Linked DNA regions of Homo sapiens: region 2 is linked to region 1. The links are contacts of gene promoters, found by promoter capture Hi-C in human tissues and cell types (Jung and others, 2019). All regions are on one chromosome and are shown on one strand. Each heading gives the region's core, a stretch centred on a gene start or on the middle of the fragment in contact. The rest is flanking DNA. Distances are from core to core; before and after follow the strand shown.

Region 1 (6,173 bases), core at 1,730-4,229:
CTAAAAAGCAATTGAACTTTTCTTTCAGATGCTTAGCCACGGGAGGTCCAGGCCTCCTCTGAGCAAAGCAGCTATGGCAGCACCAGTCTAGAAAAAGAAAGCCTGTCTCTGGCCGATGAATTGAATAATCAAACATGTCAGAGGCCCCTGGACAAGGTGAGGGAAAGCAGTGATTCGTCACAAAACTGACACATGCTTCCTCCACAGCATAGCTCATCTTGTCTATGGGAGAAACAACACTATTTCAAATCAGTGTGATTTAAAGAATGGTGGTGGTGAACCAGCAAGACTGTTTGCTAAGGGGCTGAGAGACAATTTCCAGATCTGGGATTTTACATTACAAGAATATCCCATGCCGTGCAGGGATGTGTTTTGCTCATGGGGTTAGAAGATACTTTTATCATGAATGATGTCATTACGGACTTCTTAGGAGAAAATTTTCACACAAAGAAAAGAACAAGCAAGTGGAGGGGAAAGACATTTGGAGTTTAGTGTTGGCTTATTGATAATTTTCATAGCCTGTTAGTATAATGACCCCATCTCTCAACTCACTCTCCATTTCTATCCTCAGTGAGAAGGGGCGCTCTTTATGAGTGAGCTGTTTTAAGACATGAGCCGGTCTAATTCTTGACATAGGAAATGGAATATTTCCATTTCCTATTCCTGACTCTACCCACGCCTTCCTCTCTTTAATTCAGTCTCTACCCCAAGCAGGTGTCATAAAGGGATGCTGCACTTGTTGGGCTGCCCAGGGAAGGTTTCATCATCTCCCTGTAACTTGGGAACTTTCTAAGGCACCAGCTCTTTCTTTCATGCCTGCATAGTTGGTCCTCTGCATCTTCAGAATTCAACCAAAAAGCTAGGGCCTCCAGAGAGGCTTGTTGTCTAATACTTCACATTTGGGGGTGTTTTCATAAACTGTGTCTACTACAAAGACTTGTGACCTTTTTAACATCCTCTTTCCACTTATTGGTTCAGTGTGGGCTCTGAATTCTAACACTCACACAGGGACGTGGACTGCCACTGTCATTGCAATATTGGCCACCCACCCTTGTGACAAGCCTGGAGTCAAACGTGCTGTGGAAATCAGGACTGTTTAAATTATATAACAGCTCTAGAGGGGTCTCAAGGAGCACCAGCAGTCACATCCATTATTTCTGCAGCAAAACTATGAATATTCACACTAAGTGACATAAAGACAAACCACAAAAAATTCACATTCTTTCAGGTCAGGCTTTGCTACCAAATGAGTTTGTGTTGAACTTAACAACAAACCTTTTGGTTTTCAAAATGTTTCAGATTTCTTAATTAGAGAATGAAAGAGTATTGATCGAATTACTCTTCTGGTTGTGGTTGTTTGACAGAATGTAGGTATTCAGTGTAGTATGCAAGAGACCAAGAGATATGATTTCAGGGTTTGAGAAAGGATTTCAGGATTTCAGATTTTAAACTCTTGTAACTTCCTCTTACTAATCCTTACCTTCCTTTTCACAAGGGACAAAACCTTTCTTTTTACAGAGAGATACTTGTAAATGCAAATACCACTAAGAGCAGCAATATGTAAATTGATGTCACAATACACAGGGATTGTTAATGACAAAGGTCACCTTCTCTTTTGAGAACAGGAACTGAAAGGGGGAAGGAACTGGGTGCCAGAAAAGGGACCCCACTATATTGCAGAAAGGCAGGCACACCAGCGGAGCTGAAACACATTAGTTGGTTCAGTGTGTGGTCAGAAGCTGGTCTGGATTTTTTGTCTTTTCTCTTATCATTGAGCGGTTTTCTCAGTTGGATGTGAGAATATGCGGTTTAAATTATGGGAAGAAAATTCCTCTCAACTTTAAGATTGGATGCTGTGAGTCAATATAAGGTAGAAGCCAACGTTTGGCTGCTTGTACCACTCTCTAGCTGGGTGAACTTGGGACAGTTATCTGTTCTCTCAAAAATTTAGTTTTCAAATCTGTTAAATGGGGGAAGATAGTGGCTCTTCTCCAGGGTTGTTGAGAGTATTACCCATAGAATGTGCATGGAGTCCCGAGCCCAGGTCCTACACACTGATATTTTCGTGAGTGTGAGGGACCTTCTTGGATCTTTCAGTCCTCCATTTGTGATTATATGTCTATCTAAATTGATCTATCAGAATTATCTCTTTATCCCATCTCTGGCCTTCTCTGAAGCTGGTAATGAGATGAGAATAGTTCAAGACAAAAACCAACCCATTTCTAAATCTTGGGAACATAATAGAACTGATTCTCAGAAGCGAGTTGACACTTAGCTTACCATACGGTATTCTGAAGAATATCCCCCAAAGTAATCAGGTCTTGATTTACTGGATGGAATAAAAGGGTAGAAGGTTGTATCCACAGCCTATGTGGTATCTCGTTAATGCACCCTCTGGCTATGTAAAATACATATTCATTGTCAAACCTCTTTTTAACCAGAGGATTGAATTCAGGTCAAAAAGTACCGTCTTTTAAAATCAGATTTGTTCATTTAGAAAACCTAAATTGGCAGTATTCCTGGAGGAGAGACTGACTTAAAGTAGGGCATGGAGAATGTGTTTTGAGAAGCATACTTTCTGTACTTTCCCCAGCCTTGGAAGATAAACCTCTCTATCCTGTGTGAATATGCAGATACACCAACTTCATCTTGAAACTTTGCAAATGAGTTTGTGAGGGTTCAGTCTTTTACAGAACTCCATTCCCTCCCTTGGAAGAATGACTTGAAAGTGGTAACTTTTTCTGCTGTCCACTCGGCCCCAGCTTAGCCTTGCTCCATAAAGCACAACCCCGTGCCACCAGCTACAGCCTTCTTTGTCCCAGTAACTGACTGGAAACTTGCTTTTCTCACCACAAAAGTTCTTGGAGTAAAAATCTGAAGCACTTACCAATCAGCGCAGATGCAGGGAAGCGAAGGCGAGAGACAGGGAGGGCGTGTGTGCTCACCGAGGCTGGGCCTGGCTCCTCTGCGGCAGTGGCTGCTGCTGGCCGGCTCCAGCTCCTCTTATCTAGGGACCAGCTGCTGCTGTTGCCATGGGGATGCTCTGTTTCACAGGCACCAGGGCAAGGGGGATGGAGAAGGAAAGAGGACTAACATCTCCATCGCTGCTCTCCACGGCAATCATTGTACATTACAAAAGTACAGTATAGAGTCGTGCTTTGAGTTTCCGGTGTGCACACCAGAGAAATTCAGACAAACCAGCTACATCATTGAATTCCCATGCGATAGATTTTTTTTGGCCTGATTTTGTAAATATGGAAACTGAGGCACAAGAAGTTAAGTGATATGCCCAAGAGAGGCCACAGCTAATTTCGACTCTCAAAGCTATTTAAGTTTAAATCCAGAGTACTTTCAATCACTATTGCTGCTTCTCAAAGTACTATCATGAGGAGGAAGAGAAGGGTAGCTACTGCTAACATTTATGTAAGGCTACCAAAATGCCAGACACTCTTCTAGAGACTTCACACATATCTACTTACTTAACCCTCAGGCCAACCTTGTGAGATGAGCTACAGTCATCATCCCATTTTATTGATGAGGAAGCTGGGGCTCAAGAGTTACCAAATCATCTGACCAAGGTCTCCCCACATGGTGAAGCTAGGGTTTGAATGGGGTAATGAAATGCTAGGGTCCACGCTTGTAACCACTTTGCAATACCTCTCAGCAAAGAGAGCATTTCAAACAGCACATAGCAAAGAAAGCAGCCCCCAACTCTATAGGTTATAGTGTGCAGGCCAGAAAAAATTTCCTCCTTCAAAGGAACAAAGCCAAATGTACCAATATTAGGAATACGTAGGCACTCAAGAGTGGATGTTTAAGCAAGGTGGGAGAGGCGGGAGACATGCTGTCTTTTGGAGAGGAAGGTTCTATGTTTTGGGTCTGCTCACTGGAGGAGAGCCCACTGGGGTTTGGAGGAGCAGCAGTTTTGACTCCAAAGCAGGAAGGCCAGTCTGGGAGATCAGGTAGGTATCAGGACCCACTAGAAGGGCTCCAGACCCCCTGATAGCAGCCAATGGACCACCCAGTGATGCCCAAGAAATATGTTCTCACAGAAGATACGTGAGCACCATCCACACATCCATATTTTTTCCAGTCTTACCTGAGGTTCCCTGCAGAGCAGGTCCCTGGCAACCCCTTGGTTTCAACTGCCTGCTTGCCACTGGCAATGTGTTTGTTGGTGCCTCCCTCCCACTTGCCAGGATCCCAAATAACAGGGCTAGAACCATAGTAAACTCACCAAGAGGTTGACTCCTAGGGTTAGACTTTTGCCATGGTAACAGATAAGCAGAGAATGGACTTCTTTGCCTGTTCCATTTTGTGTTGATCCTTATTGGGACCTCCTGGGAAGAGATGAGGGTTGCTGAAAGGTGATGCTCTTGTCTAGGAAGGGAAGGCCCTAGATGTTGAGGGACAGGGCCTAGAAGCAGGTCTGTGTTCAAAACTGCCTGCTTTATCTTCTTCATTTTTTAAATTTTATTTTATTTTCAGTGCTGGGACACATGTGCAGGACGTGCAGGTTTGTTACATAGGTAAACGTGTGCCATGGTGGTTTGCTGGACCTATCAACCCATCACCTAGGCATTAAACCCTGCCTTACTTTATCTTCTTAACAACAGCCTTGTTGGCCAATGAGTTAGCAGCATCTTCAGTCCACACTTGAGTGGAAAAGATATACTTTCCTTCTGAAATCCTTGAATTCTTCTTTTGAATTAAACTGTTTTGAGGTAATAGATCTACATGTCGTTGTGAGGGATAATACAGGGAGATCTCCTATACGTAAGCAGTTATATCCAATGGTAACATCTTATGAAACTATCCTACAATATCAAAACCAGTATGTTGATATTTACATGAATATATACAGAACATTTCTGTCACCACAAGCCTCCCTTATCTTGCCGTTATATAGCCATGCCCCCCTCCGTTCCTTCCTAACCTCCTGCTCCCAATCACTTTTTAAACTCGGCAACCATGAATCTATTCTCCATTTCTATAATTTTGTCAATTCAAGAATGTTTTAATAATGGAATAATACAGTAGGTAGCCTTTTGGGTTTGGCTTTTTTTTTTTCACTCAGCATTATTCCCTAGAGATCCATTCAGGTTGTTGTGTGTGTCAATAATTTGTTCTTTGTCATTGCTGAATAGTATTCCATAGAATGGACCACAGTTGGTGTGACATCTTGTATATACACCTGGATTGTTACCAATGTTTGGCTATTACAAATAAAGCTGCTATGAACATTCATGTAGAGAGGCTTTTGCGTGAACATAATTTTTAATTTCTCTGGGATAATGCCCAGAAGAGTAATTACTGACAATTGCATGTTTCCTTTTACAATAACACCAAAGCGGCTGTAGCATTTCCCATTCCCACCAGCAATGTACGAAGGGTCCAGTTTCTCTGTATCTTCACCAGAATTTGGTGTTGCCAGTATTTTTAAAAAGCCATTCTCAGAGGTAGGTTCAGTAGTAATATCTCGTCATGGTTTTAATTTGCATTCTGTGCATGACTAATTATGCTAAACATTTTTTCATGTGCTTATTTGTCATCTGCGTAGTTTCTCTGGTGAAATGTTACTTCATGTCTCTTGTCTACCTTCTAATGGGACTTTTTATATTACTGTTGAGTTTTGAACTGGATCCTAGATATTCCAGATACTAGTTCTTTATTAGAAATATGGGTTGCAAATACTTTCTCCCAGTTTGCTGTTTGTATTTTTAATCTTTTCATGGAGTCTTTCACAAAGCATAGCTTTTAAATTTTTATAAAGTCCAATTCATCATTAATGAATTTTAAAATATATAATTTAGATTTTTCTGAGGCTCTTTGGAGAAGCTTAATTGTGTTAAGCATATTCCAGCCTGTAGATTTTAACAAATCCTTTTGTCACTTAATTTCCACAGTTCAAAGGGAATATTTTCAAAGACAGAAGAGTATGAATCCCTGATTTCCCCTTTGAATAGACATGTCTACTACTCCCAAGTTCGGGCTGTTGTTGCTGTTGCTGATTTTTCCCAGGGCTTCGTACATACTCTTTAATTGATTATGCCCCTCCCCCTTTTAAGGCAGATGTAAACAGCAACTGACAGGGCAGATGGTAATGTAAATCTATACCTTGGAGAGTTCTAAATAACAACCACATATGTGCAGTGCTGAAGTCATAGACCCTC
Region 2 (6,173 bases), core at 1,024-3,523, 710 kb before region 1:
AATACAGGATCCTACAGGGTCTGACCAGTACAGGATCCCACAAAGTATTTGGATCTATTGTTCCAGTCATTCTAAATCTAAGAATTTATTCTAAGAATGCAATCCAACATGGGGACAAAACTCTGAGGACACACAACCGTGTGTAGGTGATGGCTTGATCGACTATGAGAACCAACTGAGCACACCTCTTCCCAGCTCCTCATCCAGTGATTTCACAATGGTAGCTTGCTAATAGTGACATAGTTCACTGTGTATATGTCCCTGTATTCACACCATATACTGAATACCGTGGAAAACACCACAAATCAGGGCCCCTCCCCCAGTTAAACATTTGCTGGGTAAGGGTGTTCACTATTTGTAATAGTGAAGAATCAGATGCAAACTAAATGTCTAGCAAGAGGAAAAGTTACCCTATGTGCTGGTGATCTGTTTAATCCTCCAAACCCACTTTCCACCCTTACCTAATCTGGGAGGCTGACCTTTATGGTCTGCTCTTACTTTCTGTCTTCTGTTTGGGTTGTGCCAATGAGAATGTGCCGAAGAATGGAGGATGGAAGGAGAGTAATATCAGGTCATTTATTCCCCCAAGTTCCCTTCCTGTAGGGTCACCATTAGCTGGCTGTCCCTCAGCTAGGATCACAGTTCTGGCCGGGCACCGTGGTTCACGCCTGTAATCCCAGCACTTTGGGAGGCCGAGACGGGAGGATCACTTGAGGTCAGGAGTTTGAGACCTGCCTGGCCAATATGGTGAAACCCCATCTCTACTAAAAATACAAATATCAGCTGGGTTTGGTGGCATGCACCTGTAATCCCAGCTACTTGGGAGGCTGAGGCAGGAGAATCACTTGAACCCAGGTAGTGGAGGTTGTGGCCAGCCAAGATTGCGCCACTGCACTCTACCCTGGGTGACAGAGCAAGACTCTGTCTCAAAAGAAAAAAAAAATCACAGTTCCTACCAAGTGATCTTGGAAATCATCCCGTATCAGTTCATACAGATCTTCCTCACTTTTTCTTTTTCTTTTTTTTTTTTTTGAGACGGAGTCTCGCCCTGTCACCCAGGCTGGCGCAATCTCGGCTCACTGCAAGCTCTGCCTCCTGAGTTCAACTGATTCTCCTGCCTCAGCCTCCTGAGTAGCTGGGATTACAGGTGCATGCCATCATGCTTGGCTAATTTTTTTTTTTGAGACGGAGTCTTGCTCTGCAGCCCAGGCTGGAGTGCAGTGGCGCGATCTCGGCTCACTGCAAGCTCCGCCTGCTGGGTTCACGCCATTCTCCTGCCTCAGCCTCCAGAGTAGCTGGGACTACAGGCGCCCGCCACCACCCCCGGCTAATTTTTTTATTTTTAGTAGATGAGGGGTGTCACTGTGTTAGCCAGGATGGTCTCGATCTCCTGACCTCATGATCTACCTGCCTTGGCCTCCCAAAGTGCTGGGATTACAGGTGCATGCCACCATGCCCGGCTAATTTTTTTTTTTTGTATCTTTAGTAGAGATGAGGTTTCACCATGTTGGCCAGACTAGTCTCGAACTCTGACCTCATGATCTGCCCACCTGGGCCTCCCAAAGTGCTGAGATTACAGGCGTGAGCCACCGTGCCTGACCCTCACTTTTTTTTCTTAAACAGTTGCAGATGTTCCATAATTTATTCAACCATGTTCTCTCCTATAGGCATTTAGATTGTTTCCAATATATTGCAATTACAAATAAAGTTGCAATGTATAACCTTGTATATATGTATTTTCATATAGTTTGGAGGTGTATCATCAAGTTAAAGGTCTAGAAATGAGATTGCTAGGCAAATGCACATGTAATTTTTAAAAATTTGCCAAATTCTCCTCTACAAGAGCTGAACCAGTTTGCATTCCCACTAGCAATGAATAAGAACTTGTATTTGCCTCCAGCCTTGACAATATGTTGTCAAGCTTCTAAATTTCCGTCAATCTGATATGTGAGAAATGGTATCTCGGGGTAGTTATAGTTTGCATCAAAAAATTATGGATGAAGTTTAATATATTTTTGTTTAAGTTTTCTGTTCATGTCTTTTACTTATTTTTTTCTGGGTTTCTGGCATTAGTCCCTCTCAATTTTTAAGAGTTAAAAATATATTAGGATATTGGCCCTTTATCTGTTATATGTTATGAACATTTTCTTTTTCGGCTTTGGTTATGATATTTTTTGTCACATGAAAGTATATTTCAGTATAGTAAAATTTATAGACCTTTTCCTTTATTGCATCTGGATTTTGAGTCATAGTTAGGAAGCTTTTCCCTACCTGGAGTTTGTAGAGAAATTCACCCATGTTTTCATGTAGTATTTGGTTTCGTTTTTTAATTTTAGGTCTCTGATCCTTTTTAAGTTTTTCCTTGTTTATGGTGTGAGATATGCATCTAAATCAATCTTTTTCCAAATGGTTATGAAGTTGTCCTTAAGTCATTTGATAAAATGTTCATCTCTTCTCTAAATGATTTGAGATACCACCTGTATCAAATATTAGATTTCCATGTGTACTTTGGACTGTTTTTGCAGTTTGTTCATTACATTTCCCTGTGATTTATTCTTATGCTGGTTTCACGTTGTTTTTATTTTTTTGGCACCAGTTTAAAAAAAACATTTTACTATAACAAACATACACAAAGTTGAAAGAATTTTACAGTGAAACCCATGTATCTGTCTGTATTCTACAGTGAACACTTCATTACATTTGCTTTGTCACATACTTATCCATCTCTTATCTCTCTATTCATCCATCAATTCATCTTATTTTTTCATGCATTTCAAAGAAAGTTGAAGACATTACAACACTCCCCCCCCCCATACTTCAATATGCATATCCACTTTATTTTTTATTTTTGTTTTTTGACACAAGGTCTCACTCTGTTGTTCAGGCTGGAGTGCAGTGGCATGATCTCTGCTCACTGCCACCTCGACCTCCTGGGCTCAAGTGATCCTCTCACTTCAGTCTCCCTAGTAGCTGGGACTACAGGCACGCACCACCATGCCCAGCCAATTTTTGTATTTTTATAGAGACAGGGTTTTGCCATGTTGCCCTGGCTGCTCTTGAATTCCTGGGCTCAAGCAATCCACCTGCCTCAGCCTCCCAAAGTGTTGGGATTACAGGTGTGAGCCACTGCACCTGGCTACATATCCATTTTAATTATGGAAGCTTAATAGTATGTTTTACTCTCTGCTGGGGCTAGTCCACCCTCATAGCTTTTCTCTTTTGGGTTTTCCAGCTATTTTATGATTCTTTTGCCATATAAACTTTAGTATCAACTTATCTAGCTCCATTATTTTAAAAAAGCTTGTTGATATTTTTATTGTGATTGCGTTCACTTTTAAATTAATTTAGGGACTACTGAGTTTTTAAGATATAATACTATGTTGTCTATCCAAAAAGAAAATATGTTTTTCCTGTAAATTAAATTTGAAGGCAAGAAGAAAAAGTAAAGAAAGTAAAATATTTTTTTTAGAATTGTTCAATCAGGAGTGTTTTAAAGTTTTCCTCATAAAGGTTTTCCTGAGAATGCTTTTTATTATATCTCTAACAAATTTTATTATATCTCTAACAAATATCTCTGTCTGCTACTCGTGAAGATCAAGAGTCTGTAAAACAACTTCTTAGCTTTGTAGCTGTAGCTAACTAAAATGTTTCTTCTTGTACTGACCCAGTAGTTTTTTCTCTGTAATTTATAGCCTTACCCCAGGTTTTAGTTTAGGTCATTGGAATAACAGATAAAAACTGTAAGTTCACTTCCCAGCTTGCTGATAGGATGAAGATCAACAGTCTAAGCCCATCCTCACTGGCTTCTGCGCACCTGTCCACCTCCTCTACCACTACCCCCCACCTCACCACCTTCTATCCTAGCAATATGGAATCACATTATTTCCTCACCCATATCCCTTTTTATGCCTTTGTGCCTCTGCTGATGCCTCTATCTGTAGTTTCTTGCCCCCCTCATCTTTCTGGAAATCTTTTACTTTTCTCTGTAAACTCAGTTGAAGAGTCACCTCCTCCAGGAAGCCTTCCCTGACCTCCCAAAGCACACTTCCCCCTGTACCTGTTTTGACTGCTGCACTTATGACATTGTGAGGTATGTGTTTTACATGTCTTTTCCTCCTTGATGTTTGTTTCTCCCCATCTTTGTATTACTAGCATTGAGTACAGTTCTTGGCACATAGCATGTGCTCAAATAGTTATTGAATAAATGAATGATTATAGGCCAGATTTCTCACCTTTTCCATATCGCAGTTGTCTCAATTCATTTTGCCGTTGCTCTAAAGGAATACCTGAGGCTGGGTAATTTATAGAGAAAGAGGTTTATCTGGCTCACAACTCTGCAGGCTGTACAAGAAGCATGGCACCAGATCTGCTTCTGGAGAGGAACTCAGAAAGCTTCCAATCATGACAGAAGGCCAAGGAGGAGCCAGCATGTCACACGGTGAGAGAGGAGGTGAGAGAGGAAGAGAGAGAGAGAAAAGGGAGGAAGGTTCCAGACTCTTTTATTTATTTAGATATTTTTTTCAGACAGGGTCTCGCTCTGTCACCCAGGCTGGAGTGCAGTGGCATGATCATGGTTCACTGCAGTCTTAGCCTCCTGGGCTCAAGCTATCCTTCCACCTCCACCTCAACCTCCTGATTAGCTGGCACTATAGGTGCACACCACCACACCTGGCTAATATTTGTATTTTTTGTAGAGTTGGGATTTCACCATGTTGTCCAGGCTGGTCTTGAACTCCTGGTCTCAAGTGAGCCTCCTGCATCAGCCTCCCAAAGTGCTGAGATTACAGGCATGAGTCAATGTGCCCAACCCAGACTCTTTTTAATAACCAGGTCTCACAGGAACTAAGAGTGAGAACTCACTTAATCCTGTGAGAATGGCACCCAGCCATTAATGAGGGATCCTCCCCCATCACCCAAACACCTTCTAGTAGGCCCCACTTCCAAAATGAGGATCAACCTGAGATTTCAACCTGAGATTTGGAGGGGGCAAATATCTAAACCATATCAGCAGTCCTTCAAATAATTGGACATCCCTGTTACACCTTTGCTTCAGCCTCCTTTTTAAAAAAACTCTTTTGACTGTTTTCCCTATTTCATTCTTTCCAGATAATCCTGTATTGTTTGAAGAAACATTTAATCAGAGAGACATTTCATAGTTTCCCACAACTAGCAGACCATGCACCTAAGCCTCAGGGGTCTCTATGTAGAGGCAGATAACTCGGAAGCTTTATGTGTGCCTATTTCTCAACAGTTAACTTGTCCACAACAGCTTTGTACAATGACTGATCTGTATGATATCACTTCTGAGTCACTAGTAACCTGTATTTTTTCTTTTATCAATCTTAAAAAAGCATGAAGGGTATACATTTCCCACAAATGTTGAACTGTTTGTGGCACTGGGAAAATAGCTCATAAAACATGGTTAAGGGTAGATATAAAATGGAGATGAGTGTTGATGTTCCTGGCAAAAGACAAAATAAGACAAAATATGTGACTTTAGTGTTGGAAAAAATTCAGGTGAGATATTTGGCAGGAAATCTGAAGAGGCCTCCAAATTCAAGTGGCATAAGGATATATTTTTAAATTAAATGTATTGTGAATGTAACCTGGAGTTAGAAAAATATAAATAAACTATATAAAGTCTAGGTCTATGCTTTCTAAAAATGCCAGCTATTTTAGGCTCCTAGAATTGAAGGCAGCATATTTTCTGGAATTACTCAGGAAATAACCACTGAATAGGATGACTGATCCATCCTAGGAAAATGACAATAATTAACAATTGAATTAAGGACTAATAGTATTCCTTTAAGTCATAGCCTTATAGATTAACTTAAATATAAAAATAATTAAATGATAGACTTCAGGCTTTTCTGTAGGTCTCTGGAAACTTAAATATAATAGGTTAGAAGGAGAAGAAGAAATCTGTAAACAAGGTAAACTTTTTATTAGTTCTAGTAGTTTTTAATGGATTCCTGAGGAATTTCTAAACACAGGATTATGTTGTCTGTGAAGGAAGACAGCTTTACTTTTTCCTTTCCAATCTGGAATGCTTTTATTTGTTTTTGTTGCCTAATTGTACAGACTAGAAATTCCATGACAACATTGAATGGAAGTGATGAGAGTGGATATCCTTGCCTTGTTCCTGATTTTAGGGGGGAAATCTTTCATTATTT

What was found. Contacts are between HindIII fragments. The study calls those that stand out against the background at their distance.
Region 2: a fragment that was not itself captured here is called in contact with the fragment with the promoter of PPP1R17 in region 1 in 3 of the 25 tissues and cell types used here (H1 embryonic stem cells, dorsolateral prefrontal cortex and stomach).

Annotation. Positions count from the first base shown.
Region 1 is chr7:31,684,021-31,690,193 of GRCh38, reverse strand. It overlaps PPP1R17 (protein phosphatase 1 regulatory subunit 17), which reads right to left and starts at 2,979. Exons shown (of 5, transcript NM_006658.5): 1 at 2,888-2,979. It also overlaps a transcript of PDE1C not described here. The HindIII fragment of the contact is 11,578 bases long and covers 1-6,173 here.
Region 2 is chr7:32,393,162-32,399,334 of GRCh38, reverse strand. It overlaps a transcript of PDE1C not described here. Among named protein-coding and RNA genes, the nearest start is that of LSM5, 94 kb to the left of the region's middle. The HindIII fragment of the contact is 5,072 bases long and covers 1-4,809 here.